4 separate regions of the Homo sapiens genome follow, and all the other regions are linked to region 2. Evidence: promoter capture Hi-C in 16 types of primary human blood cells and fetal thymus (Javierre and others, 2016). All regions are on one chromosome and are shown on one strand. The core of a region is centred on a gene start or on the middle of the fragment in contact, and the rest is flanking DNA. Distances in the headings are between cores, read along the strand shown.

What was found. Contacts are between HindIII fragments. The CHiCAGO score rates a contact against its expected background, and 5 or more counts as called.
Region 1: a fragment that was not itself captured here is called in contact with the fragment with the promoter of KBTBD4 in region 2 in 2 of 17 cell types (neutrophils and monocytes); the score reaches 6.0 in neutrophils.
Region 3: a fragment that was not itself captured here is called in contact with the fragment with the promoter of KBTBD4 in region 2 in 1 of 17 cell types (M2 macrophages); the score reaches 5.8 in M2 macrophages.
Region 4: a fragment that was not itself captured here is called in contact with the fragment with the promoter of KBTBD4 in region 2 in 1 of 17 cell types (monocytes); the score reaches 5.4 in monocytes.

The regions. Positions count from the first base shown.
Region 1 is chr11:47,273,158-47,275,915 of GRCh38, reverse strand. It overlaps MADD (MAP kinase activating death domain), which reads right to left. Exons shown (of 37, transcript NM_001376571.1): 2 at 1,940-2,089; 3 at 757-1,353; 4 at 1-17. The coding sequence starts at 2,001. Among named protein-coding and RNA genes, the nearest start is that of MADD-AS1, 2.4 kb to the right of the region's middle. The HindIII fragment of the contact is 3,506 bases long and covers 1-2,758 here.
Region 2 is chr11:47,577,720-47,580,419 of GRCh38, reverse strand. It overlaps KBTBD4 (kelch repeat and BTB domain containing 4), which reads left to right and starts at 1,450. Exons shown (of 4, transcript NM_018095.6): 1 at 1,450-1,487; 2 at 2,392-2,700. The coding sequence starts at 1,469. It overlaps NDUFS3 (NADH:ubiquinone oxidoreductase core subunit S3), which reads right to left and starts at 1,346. Exons shown (of 7, transcript NM_004551.3): 1 at 1,262-1,346; 2 at 1,086-1,151. The coding sequence starts at 1,328. RefSeq lists enhancers at 573-1,231, 1,300-1,539, 1,232-1,891. The HindIII fragment of the contact is 1,977 bases long and covers 1-1,665 here.
Region 3 is chr11:47,295,920-47,298,619 of GRCh38, reverse strand. It overlaps MADD (MAP kinase activating death domain), which reads right to left. Exons shown (of 37, transcript NM_001376571.1): 24 at 2,565-2,700. Among named protein-coding and RNA genes, the nearest start is that of MADD-AS1, 25 kb to the right of the region's middle. The HindIII fragment of the contact is 2,613 bases long and covers 1-2,561 here.
Region 4 is chr11:47,312,641-47,315,382 of GRCh38, reverse strand. It overlaps MADD (MAP kinase activating death domain), which reads right to left. Exons shown (of 37, transcript NM_001376571.1): 30 at 56-163. Among named protein-coding and RNA genes, the nearest start is that of MYBPC3, 39 kb to the left of the region's middle. The HindIII fragment of the contact is 1,449 bases long and covers 765-2,213 here.

The DNA of each region.
Region 1 (2,758 bases), core at 207-2,706, 300 kb after region 2:
TCCGCCACATGGTGTCCCTGAGAAGCAGACAGCAGGAATCAGACACATTAGCATCAGAAGCTGATACCCTACTGCAACTCAGTATCACCACAGAGGCTCTAATGATGACAATGGGAAACGGAGCATCATTAAGAAAGCCCAGTCTCTGAGCTCAGATAGGACCGGAAAGTATATACAATGGCAAAAGCAAATGTAAAGATATATACTGGGTAAGACTTACTGTCCTAACCACAGTTAAAACACCAAATTCCAGCATTACTCCAAACACAATTTTGGAAAGAGGTCTAACTCTGCAGCAGTCTTTTGCTTAGTAAAGATTAACTCTTGGCTGGGGATGATGCTCACGCCTATAATCCCAGCACTTTGGGAGGCCAACGTGGGTGGACCACCTGAGGTGAGGAGTTTGAGACCAGCCTGGCCAACATGGCGAAACCTTGTCTCTACAAAAATACCAAAATTAGCTGGTCATGGTGGCGTGCACCTGTAATCCCAGCTACTCGGGAGGCTGAGGCAGAAGGATCACTTGAACCCAGGAGGCAGGGGTTGCAGTGAGCCGAGATCGCACCACTGTACTCCAGCCTGGGCAACAGAGCGAGACTGTCTCCAAAAGAAAAAAGATTAACTCTAAATACTCTAAATATGCTTAATAGGTCTGAAGGACCTTGAGCTGTAGAGGAAATTTCCTATGCCCCTCAAAGACCAATTACATGGAATCTCTAAATGCTTCCCCCATTAGGCATCAGCAGCAAACTGTACCTTTGTACGCCTCGAGGGATGCCCAGTTTCTTGCCCAGAAGGCGCTCACTACAGCAGTCCACCAGGCGCTTGAGAGTATACAAACACTCTCGGAAGGTGGAGAAGAAAGGGTAGTGGCTGAGCACGCACAGGGACGTGAGAGTACTGTTGCGGGAGCGGCTCCCCGCCTTGGCCCGGCGTTTGCCCCGAGGAGACTGGTTCACATCAGGGGTAGAGTCAGCACTGAGAGGCTGCAGGGATGAGCCACTCTCTGAGCTCTCAGTGCCACCCTCTTCTGAGGCACAGGTGGCATGGGTTCCTTCCTTCCCACGGGACCCTGCCCCACCTTCCCCCTTCTCCTTAGAGATTCGCTTTTGGAAGGAGCGGTAGAAGTTAACACAGATGCCATATCGCGTGACTCCAGTGTCCTTGTCAGTGAGGGTGAAGACAAAAGAGGTATCATCCCGAAGGCTCATGCGCCGCTGCCGCACGCTCAGGCAGCCCTCGGGCTGGCAGAAGAACACTACATCTGGGGGCAGGGGAAACTCAGTGTGATCCTCCAAGGGGTATCGCCGTAGCAATTCAGGAGTCTGGGCCACGCTATCACTGCTCGGGTGCCTGAAGAACATAAAGACAAATTCAGCAGCCTGAAGGGATGGAATGGGCTATCAAATTTTAACCACAGTCAACAAATAAAGCTCAAGATGCTATTTTGGATAAAGTAACCTGACTGTAACACCTTGGAAAATATGGGTGCTGCCTGCCGCATGGAGCTGGTAACCTAAGTGAAGTCTACACTGTCATGAAGGCATCTATTCTGAAACGAAGGGGAGATTTTGACAATAAAATTATCACTGGCACCTTAAGATGATTAACATCTTTTAAAGTGAATTAACTAATAAATTACCAAAAAAGTATACATAGAGGAGTAGCTTATAATGTACTTTTTCTTTTTACAAAATAAGAAAACTGAGGTATAAAGAGTATATTTGCTCGACATCAAGAAGATGTTAGTTAAGAGCAGGGTTTTGCTTTCAATCCACCTGATTTTGTTTTTTCCCTACTGGCTTCGATGCTCCCATCAGGGTAAAATAACAGGAGAAGATGAGCTATGCAAAGCAACATGGAAATCGGAGAAGGGAACAACTGCAGATTTTATGGCTATCCCAGATATTAAGACAAAAGTCAATCTCTTCTTGGTTACCTGGCCCCTACGATCACTAGATAGTCAAGTAACCGAGGACAGAACTTCTTCTTTTGCACCATGGTTCCAATTCATCAGTTTATCTCAGAGAAGCATCAGGGCACCAAGCAAGGAGTCAGCATTCCCAGGAGGAATTCTGAAAATCGAAGTCTAATAGGAAAAAAAGTACTGATAAGATCCACTGCTGTGCCTAAGGGACTCATCCCTCTCAACTTCTTCCCGGCCAGAGGCAGAGGTCAGAAGGTCTTCCACTTTCATACTAATGATAGGAGAACTTGACGCTTGCCTAGCCTCGTGTCTAGGCTCATGAGCTCACAGAATCGAATGTTAAAAAATAGATAGGCCAGGCATGGTGGCTCACGCCTGTAATCCCAGAACTCTGGGAGGCCGAGGCGGATCACCTGAGGTCAGGAGTTTGAGACCAGCTGGCCAACATGGCAAAACCCCATCTCTACTAAAAATACAAAAAAATTAGCCGGGTGTGGTGGCACACATCTGTAATCCCAGCTACTCGGGAGTCTGAGGCATGAGAATCGCTTGAACCCAGGAGGTGGAGGCTGTGGTGAGCTGAGATCGCACCACTGCACTCGAGCCTGGGTGACAGAGTGAGACTCCGTCTCAAGAAAAAAAAAAAAATGTAGATAAATAATGGTTCACCTACCTATCCCTACCAATGACTTAATTTCCAGCTTAACGCCTGGGGCTCTGTTTCTGAAAAACAGACCTAGGCCATCTAATCTGGACTCAGTCATTGTAACAAAAATTGAAGTCACTCTCAGGATCCCTCCAGGGTGGATCAGGATCAAACCAGACTCCTCA
Region 2 (2,700 bases), core at 201-2,700:
TGAAGCACCTTGAGAAAGGTGCATGTGAAAGGTTTCCCTTCTAGGGAATACAGTGATGAAAACTTGGGGAAAGTGCCACCTTAACTACACGGTCCTCAGAAAGACTCTTACTATAGCAGCTGGGGTGTTCACCTCTTCTCAAAATTACTCCACAGTTCTTCCCTCACATTGCCTGCATTTCTGCTAAAGCAGTAGTCTCAGTTCTCCTGTCAGACTAAGAGCTGTTTGAGGATGGGAACTGAACTTTTGCCTCTCTGTAGCTCCTTAGCACGCAAGTTTATACCAGGTTCTCAAGCTAAGAACTTCAGGGCTTGAAGATCCCTCACAGACTCTCTCTCTCCTTAAAAGTGTGTGTGTGTGTGTGTGTCAATGAGAAAACTGAGGCCCAGGTGTGTGTGTGTGTGTGTGTGTGTGTGTGTGTGTGTGTGTGTGTGTCAATGAGAAAACCCAGGAAAGGAGAAATGCCAGGTCTCCTAACTCCCAGTCCGTGTATCTTGACTGTAACATAATATGTACATACTCATTCATGCAACCCTAAACCACTGAGCAATCACACATCACAAGCTACAGAATAATGGTTAGGTGTTTCTGCCTCTGGCAGCAGGCAGGCCTACTTTGTCATTCACTAGGTCTTTGACCCTGGGCAGTTTAATTCTTTGGACTGTTTCCTGATCTATAGTAAGAAGAGTAAGATGCTATCTACCCCATAAGGCTGTTGTGAGGACGAAATAAGATCATTCACTAAAACGCTTAGCGAGGTTCCAGGCACACATTAAGCACTCAATTAACGCTAGGTACTATTATTACAGGGCTCTGAGGCCTAAAGGTTATATTGCTTGCTTTCAAAGAGCTGACAGTTTAATCAGACAAAAAGGGGATGATTGAAATGGACAAGGAACAATCAGGGCCATAACAGGCCTAAGGGCACAGGGAGGGCTCGATTCTGCATGCAGGGTGAAGACCACTGCAAGTCAGATCTCCAAGATTTGCCAGGAGGACGTAGGGAAGGGCATCCTAGGGCAAGGACAGGCATCTAAGGGGCCCCGCCGATAGTTCAGAGAAGAGCGCTGCCCGCACATACTCACGGCGCGTGTCGGCCCCGGCGCTCTCCCGCCTCACCGGCAGCAACAGAACGGAGGGTCGCCCAGTCCCTGCACAGGGAGATAAAAGGCACAGACGCGCGGGATGAGCCCTGAGGAGCTCTCTGCACTGGGCACGCCGCTGCGCCTGACCCCGGTCTCAGCTGGCTGCCCGTGCTCACCCCTGGTCAGCGCCGAGGCCCCCAAGATCCCGCGCCACCACAGCCTGGCTACCGCCGCCGCCGCCATGTTACTCAGATGCAGACTAGGCAGCGGACGGAAAGACAGCAGGACACGGAGCCCCAAGGGCACGGACCGGAAACGGAAGTGTGCAGCAGATCTTCTTCCGGGCGGACGTGGAGCCGGAAGCGGAGGTTCCGGGCTCCGGGATGAAAGGAGGGAACGCAGGTGAGAAAGCGAGACAGGCAGGTAGGGAAATCGTGAGGTGAGCGTGGTCCTAGCTCCTTGTGGCAGAGCCTAGAGAGAAGGCGAGGACGCTGAAGAACCAGGCGGGTGAGAGGAGGGGAGGGGGCGGGCGTTTTGGGTTCTACGCTACACACCCCTCCCCCGCTCTCTGAGCCAAGCTTTTGACGAGGGCGGGCGGGCCTGAGCGGGAAGAACGGTTTCCCTGGCGACCGTTTCCAAGACGACTCAAGGTGGAGCGGGGACATTGCACAGGGTGATGGGCCTCCCAGTGCCCCGGCCTGGGGGCGGATGGACTCAAGTTCTGGGACGCAGCCATAGGGAGTCTTTCGAGCGAGCGGGGAAGTGTGGGGGAAGCAGCTCAGAAGAGAGCAAATGTAAGACCCACGGATATCCCAGGCTAGGCTTCATATGGAGCGTCTTAACTCCATGCGCTGGGAAGGAGAGGACCTGGCCACTAGGCCGGGGCCAGGGGTCCTTTTTGTCTGATTCTACTGCCCCTGAGCTTCACTAGTTTTATGCCCCAGTTATTTGGTTAGTAAGGCTTTTACGATCACAGGCCTCTCCCAGCCCTTTGCTTTCATATATTGACCTAAATCCCAAGTCTTTTGTTAACATTATGGAAAGGAATTATTCCGTGTTTTCTCAGGAAAACACCCAGAGTTGGAACTTTTATTTATATCATTAGCGGAGGGGCGCCACTGGGGATAACGAACCCAGATTTGGTTAAAGGATAGCGTCAGGGACATCATGGACAGGGCCAGGACTAAGGCCAATCTGGACCCACTTTGCTCTCACTTCTTCCTTTTCCCTCCCTGAGTTGGACAGTTGGATTCACAGACTATGGCTGTGAATTCCTCAGGTTACTCAAGATGGTGTTGCTTTGCAGACAGCTGGCAGAGAGAGAAGTTGGCTAGCATGGAATCACCAGAGGAGCCTGGAGCATCCATGGATGAGAACTACTTTGTGAACTACACTTTCAAAGATCGGTCACATTCAGGCCGTGTGGCTCAAGGCATCATGAAACTGTGTCTAGAGGAGGAGCTCTTTGCTGATGTCACCATTTCGGTGGAAGGCCGGGAGTTTCAGCTCCATCGGCTGGTCCTCTCAGCTCAGAGCTGCTTCTTCCGATCCATGTTCACTTCCAACCTGAAGGAGGCCCACAACCGGGTGATTGTGCTGCAGGATGTCAGCGAGT
Region 3 (2,700 bases), core at 6-2,505, 280 kb after region 2:
GGAGAAAATATTTACAAACTATTCATCTGACAAGGGATTAATAGCCAGAATATACAAGAAAGAAAAAACTCAACAGCAAAAAAACACAAATAATCTATTTAAAAATGGGCAAATGAGCTGAATAGATCTCTCTCAAAAGAAGACATACAAATGGCTAACAGGTGTTTTGGAATAATGGGCCTCTACACAGGCCTTGAAGCCAAACTGCTGTAGACGGTTCTCACTGCCGCTTCCATTTATGAGAAACTGATGGTTGCTATCTTCACAGTTATGCGGCTGAAGAGTACAAGCAAGCACTGAGATGTCTTATAGTAAAAAGTTCAGAAGATGCTCAAGGTGGAGGATTTTCTTCTAAGCGAAGAGAAGTAATTTTCCTATTACTCTGGCTCCTTCCACCACAAATGTCATCCTTATTGGTTTGAAAAGCATCTAAAAGTAAACAGGAAGTATAGCAGGCTAGCCCCGTTGCCAATTTAATTTTTACGATCCATGGTTAGATTTTGTGGTGAAGGTTGAACTAATATGTAAAGAAGGCCGGGCGCGGTGGCTCATGCCTGTAATCCCAGCATTTTGGGAGGCCGAGGTGGGCAGATCACAAGGTCAGGAGATTGATACCATCCTGGCTAACACGGTGAAACCCCATCTCTCCTAAAAATACAAAAAATTAGCCGGGCATGGTGGTGGGCGCCTGTAGTCCCAGCTACTCGGGAGGCTGAGGAAGGAGAATGGTGTGAACCTGGGAGGTGGAGATTGCAGTGAGCAGAGATCGCGCCACTGCACTCCAGCCTGGGCGACAGAGCAAGATTCTATCTCAAAAAAAAAAAAAAAAAGAAAGAAAGAAAGAAAAGAAAAGAAAACATTATTGAAAACCCTTGGCCGGGAGCAGTGGCTCACGCCTGTAATCCCAGCACTTTGGTAGGCCAAGGCGAGCAGATCACGAAGTCAGGAGATCAAGACCGTCCTGGCTAACATGGTGAAACCCCATCTCCACTAAAAATACAAAAAATTAGCTGGGCGTGGTGGCGGGCACCCGTAGTCCCAGCTACTTGGGAGGCTGAGGCAAGAGAAGAGTGTGAACCCAGGAGGCGGAGCTTGCCGTGAGCCGAGATCGCACCACTGCACTCCAGCCTGGGTGACACAGCGAGACTCCATCTCAAAAAAAAAAAAAAGAAAAGAAAAGAAAACCCCTAATAAACTGTCAGCACAAAAGAAAAATCAATCACTCAATCAGCCAATCAGTCTGTTCAGACTGAGAGAGAGTTAAGGCCCATTAACTTGAGTAGCCTCTCAGTCCTATTCCCAATCTCCACTCTGGGAGGTCACTGACTCTATTAAAAACACACATACAGAAGGCTCTGGGGGTGGGAATGATAACCAGTTTTAAATAGTTGGTTTCATTTAACTTTTATCTTCCTTTCTCCCCATAGGCCTTAAAGATAAGGACCTATGCGTATAAGCTCTTGTAGAGAACATCCATTCTCATCTCTGTTTAATAAAGTAACAAGTCTATCAGTGTTTTAACACAGCCTATAGAGGCACATACACATTAAAAAGCAGAGGCTGGGCACAGTGGCTCATGCCACTTTAAGAGGCCAAGGCAGGAGGCTCACTTAACCCAGGAGTTTGAGACTGGCCTAGACAACAGAGGGAAACCCCATCTCTACAAAAAACTAAAAAATTAGCCAGGCATGGTGGTGTATGCCTGCAGTCCCAGCTACTTGGGAGGCTGAGGTGGGAGGATCACTTGAGCCTAACAGGTCAAAGCTGCAGTGAGCAGTTGAGCAGTGACTGTGCCACTACACTCCAGCCTGGGCAACAGAGTGAGACCCTGTGTAAAAAAAAAAAAAAAAAAAAACAACAAAAAACAGATGTCTACGGCAAGGACTAAAAAGAATTCATCTCCTTCCAGCTGATCATGGGCTTACTGTGTGATCTAGGGAAGTTCTTTTTTCCTAAGGCATTGTTCCCCTCACCTATTAGAAGAGACTACTCACAGCAATATAGTGAATCACAAACTTCTTGAGTAGAAACCATGCCTTTTTCATCCCTGTTTCTTTAGCACAAAATCTGGCACTTAGTAAATCACTTCATGGATGTTTATTAATGAATGAAAACTTCAAATAACTGTTAGGAATATACTAAAATAAAATGCTATTTTATTTATAAATAGAGCAGTGACCAAAATAAAACTGGATAGTCCATAGAAATAGGCAGACTGGTACTAAACGAGAGCTGTAATTGTCCTGACATTGCCACAAAGGTATTACTTTGCCTGTGTTAAACCTGGGGGTTAATACTACATAGGATTCAAAGCCCTTACGTGACTGGGCACGGAGCCTAACTCATCAATGATTCAGGAGAGGGTTCTAAAAGCCCCAGATTGTGAGTCAAATGACTCTGAACAAAGCCTTAAGAAATGTTTTCCTTAAAGCCAAATATAAGAAGATTACCTCTTCCTTATTTAACCTTTACCTCTTTAGCGTCTCTTAACTTTCATTCTTTTCTTGCCTGCTTCCCTCCCCCATTAAAGAAATGGTTTTCTTTTGTTAATAAACAAAGCTTACAAAGATGGTGCTTGTGGCAGAGTTGGTCTCAATTTCACTATCAGACAAAGTGCCCCGAGAGCTTGCCAGGTGAACACTGCCCTCGCCACCTGGTCCATCACCTGCATTGCTGCTCAAGTCACTGTCAGCTCCAAGG
Region 4 (2,742 bases), core at 240-2,739, 270 kb after region 2:
AGTTCCCTGTGACTCTCAATAGCCCTTTGGGCCCCCAGCATGAACCAGCACCTACCTCCATGAAAAAGATATCTCCGTTTGTATCTGTCCCTGCATGTACCACAAATGTCTGCTTCTTCATGTGCCGGCTGCCACTGGACCAGATAGAGAGATCGCGTCCATTCTGATGAAAGAGAGATTTTTTAGGGACAGTCATACATCCCTCTCAGAGGGCTCTGGGCCAAGAATTCCCCATCCAGCAATCAAATTCATATCGGCTTCCTCAGCACAGTCTCATCTGCTGGCCACTGGTCACCAGGGAAGTGGTTTCAGATGTTTTGGTCTCAGAGGCCCTATATCTCTTAAAATTTATTGAAGATTCCAAAGAGCTTTTGTTTATGTGAGTTATATTTATAGATATTTACATACTAGAAATTTAAACAGAAATTTCTCAAATGATTAATTATAAAAACAATTAATGATTAATATAACCCATTACATAGTAATATAAACATTTTTAATAAAATAACTATATTTTCAAAAAAAAGGCACTGTTTCACATTTTTGCAAATCTCTTTAATGTTTGGCTTAGAATCAAATAGTTGCATTCTCCTATCTGCCTCTGCATTGAGTCTGTTGCAGTATGTTGCTTTGGTTGAGGTATATGAAAAAAACTTGACCTCAGAGATACGTATTTGGAAAATGGAAGAGGATTTTCATAGCCTTTTCAGATAAATAGACGTATTCTTCTTTAACACTACACCAGAACTTGGGAAGCAGAAGCTTCTTTTTTTTTAGAGACAAGGTTTCGCTCTGTCATCCAGGCTGGAGTGCAGTGGCATGACCATAGCCCACCACAGCTCTGAACTCCTGGGCTTAAGTGACACTCCTGCCTCAGCCTCCCAAGTACCTGGAATTACAGGCATAAACCACAACACCCAGCAAAAGCAGCTTTTGAAAGTTAGTTGCAGTGTGGAATCTGAAAGCACATCAATGAACATTTTACATTGTTACATTAAAATCCATTTAGGCCAGACATGGTGGCTCATTCCTATAATCCCAACACTTTGGGAGGCCAAGTCAGGAGTACCGTTTGAGCCCAGGCAGGAGTTGGAGACCAGCCTGGGCAACAAAGTGAGACCCTATTCTCCATACACTTTTTTTTTTTTTTTGAGACAGGGTCTCATTCTGTCACCCAGGCTGGAGTGCAGTGGTGCTCACGGCAGCCTCAACCTCCTGAGCTCAAGTGATCCTCCCACCTCAGCCTCCCAAGTAGCTGGGACTACAGGTGCATGCCACCATGCCTAGCTAATTTTTTTATTTTTTGTAGAAATGGGGTCTCCCTTGGCTGGGCGCGGTGGCTCACACCTGTAATCCCAGCACTTTGGGAGGCCGAGGTGGGCGGATCAAAAGGTCAGGAGTTGGAGACCAGCCTGACCAGCGTGGTGAAACCCCATCTCTACTAAAAACATAAAAATTAGCCGGGCGTTGTGGCGGGCACCTGTAATCCCAGCTACTCATGAGGCTGAGGCAGGAGAATAGCTTGAACCTGGGAGGCGGAGGTTGTAGTGAGCCGAGATCGCGCCGCTGCACTCCAGCCCGGGTGACAGAGTGAGACTCCGTCTCAAAAACAAACAAACAAACAAAAAGAAATGGGGTCTATGTTCCCCAGACTGAAAAAAAATGTTATTTAAAAATTAAGATCCATATCTCTGCCTTGCATTTTGAGTAGATCTTTTATCCATACTTGAATTTACAACATCATACATTGGTATTTAGAAAATACTGTTGGCTGGGTGCCTGTAATCCTAGAACTTTGGAAGGCCAAGGTGGGCGGATTGACTAAACTCAGGAGTTCAAGACCACAGCCTGGGCAAGATGGTGAAACCCCGTCTCTATTAAAATACAAAAAAAAAAAAAAACTAGCCAGGTGTGGCAGCATACGCCTGTACTCCCAGCTGCTCAGGAGGCTGAGGCAGGAGAATTGCTTGAACCCAGGAGCCCAGGAGGCGGAGGTAGCAGTGAGCCAGCATCCTGCCACTGCACTCCAGCCTGGGCCACAGAGCGAGACTCCGTCTCCAAAAAAAAAAAAAGAAAGAAAATAGTGTTTCACTGAGTTACACAGCTCTTCCAAATGTTGACATATTTTGTAATATTAAATCAATGTTTAAAAAATCACATTCATTAATATCACCACCAATCTCATTAGAAAAGTCTTTAAATATTGGGAAGCTTCAAGTTCAAAACTCTGCCAAAATTCTTATTTTCACTTAAAAGCTGAATCTTATCATTGGCAACAAATACTGTCAGTTGTTTTCCCTGAAACAACAGGCTCACTTGATTAACTGAAGGAAAATGTCTGCCAGTTGGGTACTCTGAATAACCATGGTTTATTAATTGTCCTTTCCAGTAAAAATGATGTTCAATGAACAAAGCGATTAAGTTCACTTGCAACTCAAGGTGAACAAATCAAGGCTGCAAATTGCTTTTCTTCAAAACAACCATCATACTGGGTTTGCAACAGAGATGCTTTATGTGTACTTCCCATTTTGTCACAAAGAATATTAAAAACATTTATAATTAATCAATCTAATAAGAGTAACAGTCTTCACTGCTTCTTCAAGGACATTTACAAGCACAACTGGCATTTTTAAAAAACTAAGAGTGTAAGCCAGGTGCGGTGGTTCACACCCGTAATCCCAGAACTTTGGGAGCTAAGGCAGGCAGATCACTTGAGGTCAGGAGTTCAAGATCAGCCTGGCC